Linked DNA regions of Homo sapiens: regions 2 and 3 are each linked to region 1. The links are contacts of gene promoters, found by promoter capture Hi-C in blood cells and fetal thymus (Javierre and others, 2016). All regions are on one chromosome and are shown on one strand. The core of a region is centred on a gene start or on the middle of the fragment in contact, and the rest is flanking DNA. Distances in the headings are between cores, read along the strand shown. Region 1 holds the start of MIR302CHG (miR-302/367 cluster host gene). Region 2 overlaps ZGRF1 (zinc finger GRF-type containing 1). Region 3 overlaps ZGRF1 (zinc finger GRF-type containing 1).

Region 1 (4,831 bases), core at 1,071-3,570:
CTAAAAGATAGCTCTCTCTTGAAAACAAAAAGGAAACATAAGAAAAAACATAAAGAGAGACATAAAATGGGAGAAGAAGTTATACCATTAAGAGTGCTATCAAAGTAAGTCTGTGGTTTAAATTCTGTCATTGGCTTAACAATCCATCACCATTGCTAAAGTGCAATTCCAATTTATATTCAACAGAGTTGCATATTAGCAACAGTAATGGCCTGTAGCCAAGAACTGCACACAGTGTGGGCGTTAACGCAATTGCTGATTAGGTAGGAACCACCACACTCAAACATGGAAGCACTTATTTTTGTCATGTCACAGCAAGTGCCTCCATGTTAAAGTAGAGGGGGCCCCTTAACAGATGTAAAAATACAAAATAAAGCTTAAATATATGAGCTGCGGTCAATACAATAAAGTTATTTTCTAAAAAAATAATAAAAATGTAAAAGGAAGACTTACCATCACCAAAACATGGAAGCACTTACTTCTTTAGTTTCAAAGCAAGTACATCCACGTTTAAGTGGTGGGGAGCCCAGTCTTGGAAAAAGTTAGAATCCTTTAACCTGTAACAAGCTTAGTAACCTTAAAACACAATAACAAAAAAATTTTGTAACAAAAGGTGTGCTGGCTTGGAGACACCTCCACTGAAACATGGAAGCACTTACTTTTGTTTCACACAGCAGGTACCCCCATGTTAAAGCAAAGGGGATCCCTTCAAATGAGGTTAGCGTGTTCTATTTTGGAGAAGTAAATTGGATTCACTCCTACTAAAACATGGAAGCACTTACTTTTAAAGTCACAGAAAGCACTTCCATGTTAAAGTTGAAGGGAGCCCACCCAACATACAACTTCTTTGGACTTCAGAGTATTTAGAGCTGAGGAGAAAGAAAACAAAATGGCATAACTTTAGAAGAAAAAAATTTTTTTACCTTCCTGAACTAGTTCCCAAAGATTCGTGTTCTCCTCCAGAAGGGTAAAAGGCAGGGACTTCAGCCACTTCTATTTATACTATTCTTAACTCTTGAATTCCTTTTGCCTTTTTATCTCAGAGAATCATTACAAGGGCCTTTTGTTATTTTAATGTATCAGCTCTCAGGGAATGTATGATCCTGGGTGGGTCTGGATCCTTTTTTTTTTTTTTGAAGTATACAGATGTCAATGTTAACAGCTAAAACCATTACCACAAGATATCTTCCTCTTAAAAAAAAAAAAGAAAAAGAAAAAGAAAATCTCCTATCTGCTTGTTTGATGGCATAGATTAGGGTAACAATGAGTGCTCCCACTGAGCCGAGAAAGGCATTGTGTTTCTATCTGGAGGAACTCTGTTTGAAGAAGCATCTACATGTTAAATGTATGTAAATAAATAGATTGCTTCCACGGGGTGTTTTGTTCTACTTAGAAATTCTTTTTGATTCAAGTAAATACTAAGGAATGTTATCTCTCAAATTGGAAGCAGTTTAACAAATCTTTAATCTCGCCCTTTTCCCACAGAGATGACTGATTTAGTAAATGTTACTAGTTAAGGAATTAATGCTAAAATTTTACTTTTATAAATTAAAATACTTCAGACACTCAAAAATTTAATTGGCAATCTTAAAACATTTAATCTGAATATTGGGGGAAGAGGAACTCCCTTAGCTTATTTTGCTAAATGTCTTTAGAACCTAGGAAATATTTTGAATATGTGTTTAAAGAAACAGGAAAGTTGGTGGAGGAGTTGCTCCAAGTCATTGTGAATGTATATATTTAGATATTTCCCTATTTACTTTTTATATTTAGTCATCTGTTATCACCATTTCTTTCCTTGTAGGAGCGAATGGATGGATTTGAAAAAAGAGTATTTAGCGCTACAAAAAGCTAGCATGGCTTCTTTAAAAAAAACAATATCCCAAATAAAATCAGAGTCAGAAATGGAAACAGACAGTGGAGTACCTCAAAACACTGGAATGAAAAATGAAAAAAGTAAAGATCACTGATAGTTTTGACAACATTATAATGTACTTATATATGTAAATGCTATCTCTGAGTTGTTATAAGATAAATTTTAATTTTAAAAAACTTGATTATTCTATTTCATTATTAGAACAATTCTTGATTTGTTAAGTTATCCAGATGTGTTACTTACTCTTGATATAAGAATATTTAAAAGGCTCATTTAAAACAATTTTTTAAATAACCTGAGTTTTCTCTACAGTTTTCATCAAGCACATGAGTGCAGAGTTTGCAGACTGAGCAAGTTTGTAGGAATGAAGATTGTAGTTTCTCACCTGTTAATTTCATTCTGTAGTATGCACCACAAGCAGGAACAAGTTAAAGCAGAATTCCTATGAATTCAAAATTAGGATACATTTTAAATTCTCATTTCTTGTAAAAATAAATGTTCACGTTTGAATAATAATGTATTTAAAACACAGTATCCTTTAACTTTTTTTTAACTTTATTGAGTAAAAATTTACTGTTCCTTTGTTCAGGGAGAAGGGGCAAATTTAAAGGCTTTACGAATGCTCTTCTAGCAGTAACAATTTGCATGTAGAATAATAAAACTTTCTGAGTTTTATTCATGGTATTTTGAAATAAGCAGTATGACATATAACCTTTAATTGTTTACTTTAAAATTAAATACGTTTTAAATTATTTAAATCTGCCTCAGGAATTATTCTAAGGTAGTCCTCCTAAGTATTAAATTGTTGTTAAGTGTAAGAGATTTAGTCCTGGTCTTTTTCCTTTTCTAATCAGCAGCCAACAGGGAAGAGTGTCGCACCCAGGAGAAAGTTAATGCAACAGGACCACAGTTCGTGAGTGGAGTGATTGTGAAGATCATTAGCACAGAGCCTCTACCTGGCAGGAAACAAGTCCGGGTAATGATTTTGAGCCCCTAGGGTATTTGTTCCTTTCTTCTCTTATTATTTCCCTGTGTGAAAATGTTTTGAATATGGAAGATAAAACAAATCAAGTTAGAATTTGTTTCCCTATGGTAAACTACTGTACAGTTTTAATTCCATGGTAACTCTTAGGTTTAATTTTGAAGCAAAATCTAGAGGCTGAAATTCCTCACTAAATCTATATGTAAGCACAGTTTAAACATCCTTCTCTATAGGAAAATTGTAACTTTTGCTTATTTTTATTGGCACTGATTTTTTTTGTATTACCTATGTGCTGATTATCTTTAAAATTTTAATTATAGAAAAGTAAAATATTTTTGAAAACCTCTTAAAATTTTTCACGCATGTGCCAAAAAACCCATACTTCTATATAATTTACGCTACAAATTGCTGTACATACAGGTTTATAATTTTTTCGCTTTATACAGTCTATCTTCTGTAGCCTTTTATACCACATTGGTAGCAATACTTTCTATTAGGGAAATTATATACTTTTAGGTGAGAGTACCATATCTTATTTACCCTTACCCTGCCTGTCACCCATTTAAGTGAATCCTTTTCTTTTTAAAAAGTGTGAAATGCTCTGTAACATACCACATATTTTAAGTATTTTCTTATACTGACATTCATCATCACTTAGTATGTTGTTTTGGTTTTACGTAGACTCATCAGTCACAGGTTTTAACTTGAATACCATTGAGGTGGTGGTTTGTTTATCTGTAAGCCCTCCTTATCTGAAATACTGTCCTACAATCCTATAGCTGTCACTAAGAAACAAATTTTGATCCTCTTTGCAATGTTGGTGAAGGATTTGGCCAAATCCAAATTGCTATTACCAGCTTGCATTTCAGGAGACAGCTGAAAATTGAGGGATGTAAATACTGCTCTGATTAATCAGATTGCAAAACATTTAATACAAAAATTGCTCAGAGTTATTTCTAATCAACTCATTAAATAACTTCTGTTATTTAAAGGGTAACTTTATCAATTACAAATTCATCATTTATGATCATCAAAATCATAAAATCAATCCCTGCATTAATCCAGTTAGTAGTTACTTACATTTTGCTGAAACAAAAACTGAGCTGTGTTGGTTACAACTGTCTGTGACTTGCCCATGTGATTACCAGGCTAATTTGTCATTCTATGGGTTTTAAATTCTAAGGGTTTTAAATCAAGAGATTAGCCTGACATTATAATGGATATTTAGTATATATCTTTTGAGTTGTAGTAATTGAATATGCTCAAAAGTCAGTTATAAAACTCATTACTACTACTGAATGCATTCAAATTTCAACAATACTGAGTTTTTTACTTGCTTTATATCTAAATTTGGTACTAATTAACTAGGTAAAGAAGTGGGAAGGACTAGCAAGTGTAAGTCTCTGCAGTTTTTTTTTTTTTAATTTGGCAAACAGTTACTAAATGCCTGTTTTGTGATAGTTGCTGAGTGTTGGGATGAGTTAAGATCTAGTCCCTGGCTTCTAGAAACTCACAGATTTTATTATATATTTTTTATTATTAACTGATAAACTTTTCTTATTCTATGATGAAATAATACTTCCAGGTATTGCTCAGTTCTTTCCGTAATTCAAACATCTAAAAATTCAACATCTGAAAGTAATGTAAATTAGTTATGTCTGAAATTTTAGGTCAAAACGAAAGGGAGGCAAGATAAATAAGATTTCCCCCCCCCCCCCATTTAGCAATCTCCAGTTACTTCTTTAGCTTTATGAATGGAAGTTGATGAATTAGGAATTAGTGTAACATTCCTGCATAAATGCATTGTATACTCTGTAAAACCTGCTGTGAAAAAAAAAGTTGATTAAGAATGCAGGAATCTGGTTAATTTGCCCTCACAGCAGGCAGTGTAGGTAAAACTTTTCCTTGCTGGGTGACCACAACTTGTTTAGAAGAGGTTACTTAGGTATTTTTTTCAGAAAGTAAGAGCTCTT
Region 2 (4,831 bases), core at 1,240-3,739, 57 kb before region 1:
ATATATTTTACAACATTTTCTTGATTGGCTACTGGGTTCTGGGTGCTGTGCTAGGAAACAAAGATGTGAAAAAATACTCATGATCCCTGGACTCAAGGAGTTCAGTTCAGTGGAAGACAGACAAATGGGAAATTACAATCATCACTATAAAAATAGTTTTATTATATTTCTGAGTTCTTACTATATGCCAACACTATATATTTTAACTTGTTTAATCCTTGTCACAACCATATGAGGTGGGTACTCTTATTTTCCTTATTTTACAACTGGGAGAAGTGAGAAAAAGAGCAGTTAAGCACTTAAATTTGCTTAATTCATCAAGCTTATAAGGGAGTTCAAATCTAGCCAGTCTAGACTGTATTGCCTCTTTAATAAAAATAACAGTAACAGGCAGTACTTACTGAGTACAGTATTCCGCTCTGTTCCCCTACTACCCTCTCCAGAAACTTGCCAGAGTACTTTCTAAAATGTAAGTTCGATTATTTCATTCCTCTGATCAAAACCCTCCAATGGCTCCCAATCTCTCTTAAAGTATGAGGCAGCTCTTACAAAGTCCTATGCAGCCCTACCTCATCAGCCCCTTACCTCCTGTTTAACCTCACTGCCTATCACCCTCCCCCTCACTCACTCACTCCATGGCAGCCTCCTTGCTGTTTTACACACCAGCCATCATTCTTCTGCCCCAAAACCTTTGCTCTTGCTATTCCCTGTGCCTGGAATGCCTTTCCCCTAGATATCTGCATGCCTTTCTCCCTCTCTTCATTCAGATCTCGACTCCAGTGTCATCTTATCAGAGAGGCTTACCTTGCCTAAAATAGAACTCCACTCCCATGTGCACTCCCTATCCCCCTACATACCAGTGTCATTCTTCAGAGCACTTAAGACACTCTGAGGTGCTGTATATTTATTTATTTTCTGTCTCCTTTAACTAGAATGTAAGTTCTATGAGGGAAAGATCATGCCTGCTTTATTCACAAGCCTATCTCTAGACCAAGAACAGTGTAACATAACAGGCATTGCTCAAGAAATATTTGTCAAATGAGTGACTGATTAAATAAATACACTCATTTTAAGGAGTTTGCTACATACATGGTCTCCATTTTCTTACCTCTCATTCATTCTTTTTTTTTTTTTTTTTTTGAGATCAAGTCTCACTGTGTTGCCCAGGCTGGAGTGCAGTGGCGTGATCTCAGCTCACTGCAACCTCTAACTCCCAAGTACAAGCAATTCTCGTGCCTCAGGCTCCTGAGTAGCTGGGACTACAGGCGTGTGCCACCACCCCAGGCTAATTTTTGTGCTTTTAGTAGAGACGGGGTTTCACCATGTTGGCCAGGCTGGTGTCAAACTTCTGACCTCAGGTGATCCACCTGACTCGGCCTCCCAAAGTGCTAAGATTACAGGTGTCAGCCACCACGCCAGGCCTCATTCACTTTTTAAATGACTCTAAACTAATTCTTACCCTATTTCATTGAAATTGCTCTTGCCAAGGTCACCACTGACCTCCAAGTTGCTAAATGAAATGGACATATTTCTGTCCTCATTTTATTGGATGTCTCAATAATAATTCACATAACTCTCTCTATCCCAATTCTTGATACAAATATAACCCATTCTCTTCTCTATGCTCTCTTTAAATGAACCCATCCACTCTTACTGCTTTAAACTTTTCTTTGTGCAAATGACTCCACAAATATCTCCTCTAAATCAGACTCATGTACTCAACTTCTTACTTAGCATCTCTATTTGATGGTTTCACAGGTATTATTTATTTATTCTTATGTATTCACCAAACCTGCTCCTCCCTGCTATGGAGAGAATTATGTACCCACAAAAAATGTATATGTTGAAGCCTTAACCTCCAATGTGATTATATTTGAAGACACAGCCTTTAGGAGATAACTAGGGTTAAATGAGGTCATAAGAGTGGGGCCCTTACCCAACTGAATTAGTTACCTTACAAAGAGAGACAACAGAGAATTCTCTCTCTTCAAATGCACACAAGAAAAGGACATGTAAGGACATAGGGAGAAGGCAGCTATCTGTAAGCCATGAAGAGGGGCTCATCAGAAACAGAATTGGCTGGAACCTTGATCTTGGACTTCTAGCTTTCAGACTGTGAGAAAATTAATTTCTGTTGTTTAAGCCATCTAGCCTGTGGTATTTTGTTATGGCAACCCTAGCAAACTAATACACTTCCCCATCTTGCTTTACTCAATGAAAATTGCCTCAGTCTGCCCAGTTGTTTTTCTTCTCCCTTTCTTTCACCCTACTCCTTACATTTAATCCAGTAACATCCATGATTCTACCTCCAAGATTTGTCTTAAACCCACCAACTCCACTATACTTTCACTGCCACAATCCCTACTTCAATTCACTATCATCAAAGCATTCTCTTAACTGGTTTCTCCGCTTCTACCACTGTGTCCATCCAAGCCATCTTCTATATAGCAGCCAGCAAAAACTTTAAAAATATAAATTGAATCATGTCACTTCATGCTGCATCCTTCAGTGATTTCCCAGTGGCACGCACAATAAAAATCAAAGTTTTGATTTTATTCTGAACCTGGCCTGAAGACTCTATGTCTATGTCTGGCCCAGCTGACCTGTCCAGCCTCATTAATTACCATTTTCTGTTTCATTCACCACAATCCAGATACCTTGGCCTTCTTTCACTTCCTCAAACTCACTCAACTTTTCAATCTCAGGGAATTTACACATGCTGTTTCTTTGCATGGTATGTTCAGTCCCTCACTGTTGCCAATGCTGGAGAAGCCCTCCTTTATCACCCATTTTATTATTTATTTATCTATTTATTTTAAGACAGGTCTTGCTCTGTTGCTCAGGCTGGAATGCTCACAGCTCACTACAGCCTTAACCTCCCAGGATCAATTGATCGTCCCACCCCCGCCTCCTGAGTAGCTGGCACTACAGTTGTGTGACACCACACCTGGCTAATTTTTAGAGATGGGGATTCCCTGTTGCCCAGGCTGTTCTCACTTGAACTCCTGGGCTCAAGCAATCCTCCCGCTTTGGCCTCCCTTAGTGCTAAGATTACAGGTGTGAGCCACCGTCCCCAGCCTAATCACCCATTCTAAAGTAGATTCCCTTATAATTTGAGAGTACTTTCACAGATTTCCTACATAGCAATTATCTCAATTTATTTGTTTGTTTGTTTATTCTCCTGATTAACATCTCCCTCCCCCTGCTGACCTTTAAGGTCATATCTGGTTTGTCCATCAATCTATACCCAAGTCTTACAAGTCTTCTGACCCACAGAAGGTATTCAATAGGTACTTTTGAATTCTTATTTATTCACAAATTTTATATTCAACAGTAAATTTCATAGTCTGTTTTACACATGTCCTGCACATTTCTAACAAATATCATTTGTTACTACTGTTGGGACTCTTTTTCTACTATATTTTCTAATTGGTTAGGAAAGCTATTAATTTTTTAAGTTTTTTGTTTTCGGTTTGGTTTTTTTTTTTTTTCTTTGAGACAGACACTCGCTCTGTCACCCAGGCTAGAGTGCAGTGGCATGATCTTAGCTCACAGCAACCTCCACCTCCCAGGTTCAAGCGATTCTCCTGCCTCAGTCTCCCAAGTAGCTGGGATTACAGGCACATGCCACCACGCCCAGCTAATTTTTGTATTTTTGGTAGAGATGGGGTTTTACCATGTTGGCCTGGCTGGTCTCGAACTCCTGACCTCAAATGATCTGCCCACCTCAGCCCCCCAAAGTGCTGGGATTACAGGTGTGAGCCACCACGCCTGGCCTAATTTTTCAAGTTTATCTTGTCTTCAGGTCCTTTCTAAAATCCCTTCTAAACTTTCAAGTTTTAATTGGTTATTTTAATTCTATTTCTTCCTTTATAATTATGCATGTTTCGTTTCCTGTCATATTTCAAAGATCAAAACATCTTTAAATGACAAAGAAAGCAGTCATCTATGTTTTGTTAGATTTTAACAAAAATTACTCCACAGGCCAGGTGCGGTGGCTCACGCCTGTAATCCCTAGCACTTTGGGAGGCTGAGGCAGGCAGATCACCTGAGGTCAGGAGTTTGAGACCAGCCTGGCCAACATGGTGAAACCCCATCTCTACTAAAAATATAAAATTCTTATGACTCACATTTTTTTACATTTTAATGTCTTTGAAATAGGGAAACACTTTAAAAGTGATGACATTTTTACATCTCTATAGCACAGGCAACAGTTGTGACATAGTTGTCATTGCCTGTACATGTGCAAATGTATGCAAATTAGTCATGCTGTTCATCTTAATAATCACTTAAATATGAATTGGTCTGTGCATTGCTAATATCAAACACGTTCTAAGTAATTTTGCTGTTTAAATGTCTTCAAAAGATTATACTATGATTTAGCCCTGAACAAAAAATTATTATGTTCAAAGAAAGGCAAGAGAACAAAGCAGTGTAATATACAATTAAAAACTGTGCCCAACACAGCATAGTGGCTCACGTCTATAAACCCTGCACTTTGGAAGGCGAAGGCAAAAGGATCGCTTGAGGATAGGAGACCAGCCTGGGCAACATAGTGAGAGCCAGTCTCTACAAAACATAAATATATATGTTTGTGTGTATATATGTGTGTGTGTGTGTGTATTTATATATATATCAAAATATATGTATGCCCAAATAAGCTTAAAAGCATTCTTTCAATAAATATAACATTAGAAGTCTAAGTGAAGATTAAAAAATTCTGGAGATCCATTTCAAAACAACGTAAGTATACTTAACACTACTGAACTGGTTGAAATAGTAAATTTTATGATATATGGTTTTCACCACAATAAATATTTTATAATGTTTT
Region 3 (4,831 bases), core at 1,119-3,618, 37 kb before region 1:
GGGCAATAGAGCAAGACTCCGTCTCAAAAAAAAGAAAGAAAAGAAAAAAAAAAGAAAATATCAAGAACCCAAGAAAGAAAGTTGTTCCTAGCCTTCCAAATAATTACTTCTACTTCTGGAATCAAATCTAAGGAAAAAACTTAAAATGCAAACAATGATTTATGTGTAAAAACATTTATTAAAGTGTTACTTATAATAGCAAAATGCTGGAAATTATTTAAATGACCAAAACAGAGAACTATTTGTCCAAAGCACAAGATAGCCATAGGATGGATGGTAAATAACTTTTAAAAAGTATGTTTAAGAAGAATTATTAATAATGTAAGATAATACAACGATATTAAGGGGAAAGGATATAAAACTATTTATATACATCAATCTAACCATTTTTTTTAACTGGACACAAAAAAATCTGGAAACATTAATAAATATTCTGAGAGGCAGGGTAGGTTTTATTTTTTTCTTCACTGTTTTCTGTATTTAGAAAAAAGAAAAAAAAATCAACATTATTAAAAGGGGAAAAAAAGGACCAGTAACATAAAGAATAAAGTAAGATATAAAATGGAGGCAAGTGAGGCCGGGCCTGGTGGCTCATGCCTGTAATCCCAGCACTTTGGGAGCCTGAGGCGGGTGGATCACTTGAGGTCAGGAGTTGGAGACCAGCCTGGCCAACATGGTGAAACTCCATCTCTACTAAAAATACAAAAATTAGCTGGGTGTGGTGGCACGCACCTGTAATCCCAGCTACTTGGGAGGCTGGGGCAGGAGAATCACTTGAACCTGGGAGATGGAGGCTGCAGTGAGCCAAGATCGTGCCACTGCACTCCAGCCTGGGCGAAAGAGAGAGACTCCATCTCAAAATAAATAAAAACAAAAATAAAATGGAGGCAAGTGAAACATTCTACTTTCTTTTGTTCCAAACATGTCTGTAGAAAGACCAGTGCCATATAATGAAAGAACTGACCCTCCAAAAGTGCTAACAGCATCCCCATTGAGTGAGAAACACTCATCTAGATGATTTATCCTAGAATTTCAATTCATCCTAATTAGAACTATTATTTTTTATATAACTACCATGGTTCCCAAACTGTGCAACAAGGTACCCTGAGGTGGCACAATGAACTCACAGGAGCTCCATAAGGTGTTTTATATGTAGGGTAACAGTGTCACCTGACATCTGTCTGACACCTAATGAACTACTAACTCCAGGTCTGTTTCTACATCAGATCTTGCTACATTTCTTTCAATGACATTGCACCTTTGTGAAGCTGGGTTCTGAGAAACTGCTGTGATAAAAAGCAATTATCATGAGAAAATCAACGTGTAACAAGAAATAAGGTGGTGTTACCTAATCTATTCCAAGGTTTGAGAAGTTGTATAGTGCCCAACAGAGGTACACATTCCATTAGTAACTGTGGGGTTTTGTTTTTTTTTTTTGAGATGGAGTCTCACTCTTGTTGCCCAGGCTGGAGTGCAATGGCATGATCTCGGCTCACTGCAACCTCCGCCTCCTGGGTTCAAGTGATTCTCCTGCCTCAGCCTCCCAAGTAGCTGAGATTACAGGTGCATGCCACCATGCCTGGCTAATTTTTGTGTTTTTAGTAGAGATGGGGTTTCACCACATCAGCCAGGCTGGTCTCGAATTCCTGACCTCAAGTGATCTGCCTGCCTCAGCCTCCCAAAGTGCTGGGATTACAGGCGTGAGCCTCCACGTCCAGCCATGTAACTGTGTTTTTTAACAAACAAAATGCTTACAAAGTTACTAGGAAATACTTGAGTTGCTTAATACTATTAACTACATAATAAATGAAACTGTTAGGCATTTCTTTTGGCTGAGGAAGGCAATGAAAAATTACTGAGATACAGCAGGAGTCATGAACCAAGATAGCTTGGGACTGTATTACTATAATTCTATTACAAATTATAGAACATTCTTATCAAAATAAAAAAAACATACTCTTAGAAAAAAAACCTGTACCTGTTGAGAATCCTTGTGCAGATGAGGAGACTTTGGTGAAACTACTGTAATAAATGGTTTCCTCACTGTAATGGAGAAAAGAAATAATCATATCATTGTTATATATAGCAGTACTCTAAAATTTAACTTATTCCTAAAACCAAAACAAGGAATATAACTTAAATTTTAAGATCAGACAATCTTGGTAATTGTTCAATCTGGAATGTAGCACTTGAGGATTCACTGTACTGTTCTCTGTTTAGATTAAAACATTTTTATGATAAAAATTTTAAAATATTTAGAATGAAAGCCTTTTTGTTTACTTTCTAAGTCAATAGTAGGAATGTTTCCTTGTACTCCTTTTTTACACTAATTAAAAAATAAATACTAACCCAATAGTTAATAACCTATACTAAAAATGCTAAAAATGAAGTACCGGACAACTGTTAGGAAAGAAAGTCAAGACTCCCAGTATACTGTTGCTATGTACAAACAGAAAAGAAAAACAGAGTCGGGCATGGTGGCTCATGCCTGTAATCCCAGCACTTTAGGAGGCCAAGGCAGGCAGATCACTTGAGGCCAGGATTTCAAGACCAGCCTGGCCAACATGCTGAGACCTTGTCTCTACTAAAAATACAAAAATTAACCAGACATGGTGGTGCACAACTATAATCCCAGCTACTCAGGAAGCTGAGGCAGGAGAATCACTTGAACTCGGGAGGTGGAGGTTGCAGTGAGCTAAGATCGCACCACTGCACTCCAGCCTGGGTGAGAGTGAGACCATGTCTCAAACAAAAGAAAAAAAAACAGCACTTCATGCTATTTCTAGTCTATCTTAAATCCATTTTTACTATGGCTTAAGAAAAAAATTCTATATTCTAAAAAATTCACTCAACAATTATTTTCCAAGTGCAGTGTGCCAGGCACTAGGGAAATAGCAGTGAACAAGACAAAAAAAAATTCCTTGAAAAAAGAGAGACACAAAAGACAAACAAATAACTAAACCAGATAAATTCAGATTATGATACAAAAGGGTATCTCATTGAACAGTGATATGATACAGAACGATTTTTGATACAGGAATTAGGAAAAGTTTCTCATGGGAAGTAACATTTAAGTTGAGATGAAGAAAAAACTCAGCTATGACAAGGGTAAAAGTGTTCGGGTAAAAGGCTGAATACAAAACAGCAGAAAAGTTGGCAAGCCTGCAGAATGCAAAGGAGTGCAGGGTGGCTAGTTTTGCCACCTTATCAGGTATCCATTTAAAAATAGAAATTTTTTTTCTTAAAAAAAAGTACATATTCAATAATCTCCTCTTCTAAAATCACAAAAAGACTAATTTTAAAGTGATAATTACGGTAAAAAATCATAGCTATAACTAGTGTAAACTTCATTTTTAGGCAATTGCTATTTATGATTTCATTGTTTTCCTGCTAAAATTCAGAATAAAATAAAAAATAATTTTGGAACTTGACATTTCTAACAAGTTTTTTTAAAACACCAGATGAAAATTGATATTGTTTTCCTTTACTGCCTTTGCTCCAGAAAAACATTCTAAATTAACATTTCTAAGCTATATACAATTATCTCACAAAAAATTTAGAGTTTTAACACTTTCGCACATTCTAAATTGGTGGCAAAATTTCTTCTTCTCTAATTTTGCTTTAAACTTCATAAAAGTATGTTATACCCTAGTGATTCAATCTTCTCAAACTGTCTCAAGCAACCAACTTAATCCTTTTTAGAGAAATATATTTGTATCAAAAAAGCAAATTTAGTCGATCATTACTCATGGATTCTGCCTACTCCCTAAAGTTTATTTGTAACCCCAAATCAGTATTTGCTATACTTTCATGGTCATTTGCAGACATACATAGAACAGCAAAAAACGAATTGCCTGAAGCGCATGTTCTCAAGGTAACACTCTGGCTTCTTGTTTTAGCTTATGTTGTAAACAATTATCTTTTTCATGGTTGCTTAGTGCCACATTTTTCATTTTTGTGCTATTTATTGGTAATTTCACTACTTAAAATGTCCCCAAAGGGGCCAGGTACAGTGGCTCACGCCTATAATCCCAGCACTTCGGGAGGCCGAGGTGGGCAGATCACCTGAGGTCAGTTCAAACCAGCCTGACCAACATAGCGAAACCCCGTCTCTAATAAAAAAAAACAAAAATTAGTTGGGTGTGGTGGCACACGCCTGTAGTCCCAGCTATTTGGGAGGCTGAAGTAGGAGAATTGCTTAAACCCAGGAGGCGGAGGTTGCAGTGAGCCAAGATCGCGCCACTGCACTCCAGCCTGGGCAACAGAGCGAGACTCTGTGTCAAAAAAAAAAAAGTCCCCTAAGAATAGTGCTATCTAGTGTTCCCAAGGGCAAGAAGACTGTGATATTCCTTATGAGGAAAGTGCATATGTTAGGTACATTTTTTATAGGTAAGAGTTATATTGCTGTTGGCTATGAGTGAGTTTAATGTTAATGAATTAACAATATATATTAAATAAGGTTCTTTAAGCAGAAACATACATAAAACAAGGTTACGTATTCATAAATTAATGAAAATGTTCTGACCACAGGCTTGCAGGAACCTAACCCTGTATTTCCCATAGGAGCAAGGTTTACTATTACTAGTTATGTGTTTGCAGTGACTTCACAGAACTACTGCAAATAATCAGAATCAACTTTAATTTTCTTTCCAACTTGATGACAGAAACCAGCTGGTTTCCCAAAACTAATTTTTTTTTTTAAGATGGAGTCTTGCTCTGTCACCCAGGCTAAAGTGCAGTGACACAATCTCTACTCACTGCAACTTCTGCCTCACGGGTTCAAGCTATTTTCCTGCCTCAGCCTCCCCAGTAGCTTAGATTACAGGTCCCC

What was found. Contacts are between HindIII fragments. The CHiCAGO score rates a contact against its expected background, and 5 or more counts as called.
Region 2: a fragment that was not itself captured here is called in contact with the fragment with the promoter of MIR302CHG in region 1 in 1 of 17 cell types (neutrophils); the score reaches 5.0 in neutrophils.
Region 3: a fragment that was not itself captured here is called in contact with the fragment with the promoter of MIR302CHG in region 1 in 1 of 17 cell types (neutrophils); the score reaches 6.3 in neutrophils.

What each region holds. Positions count from the first base shown.
Region 1 is chr4:112,647,731-112,652,561 of GRCh38, forward strand. It overlaps MIR302CHG (miR-302/367 cluster host gene), which reads right to left and starts at 2,321. Exons shown (of 3, transcript NR_146092.1): 1 at 2,262-2,321; 2 at 783-869. It overlaps LARP7 (La ribonucleoprotein 7, transcriptional regulator), which reads left to right. Exons shown (of 13, transcript NM_016648.4): 8 at 1-104; 9 at 1,805-1,956; 10 at 2,731-2,852. MIR367 (microRNA 367) reads right to left here and starts at 211; the gene lies at 144-211. MIR302D (microRNA 302d) reads right to left here and starts at 341; the gene lies at 274-341. It also overlaps MIR302A, MIR302C and MIR302B. RefSeq lists an enhancer at 1,141-1,863. The HindIII fragment of the contact is 6,288 bases long and covers 566-4,831 here.
Region 2 is chr4:112,590,976-112,595,806 of GRCh38, forward strand. All of the region lies in intron 10 of ZGRF1 (zinc finger GRF-type containing 1), which reads right to left. Among named protein-coding and RNA genes, the nearest start is that of ZGRF1, 44 kb to the right of the region's middle. The HindIII fragment of the contact is 4,339 bases long and covers 321-4,659 here.
Region 3 is chr4:112,610,546-112,615,376 of GRCh38, forward strand. It overlaps ZGRF1 (zinc finger GRF-type containing 1), which reads right to left. Exons shown (of 28, transcript NM_018392.5): 7 at 1,979-2,043. Among named protein-coding and RNA genes, the nearest start is that of ZGRF1, 24 kb to the right of the region's middle. The HindIII fragment of the contact is 5,419 bases long and covers 1-4,831 here.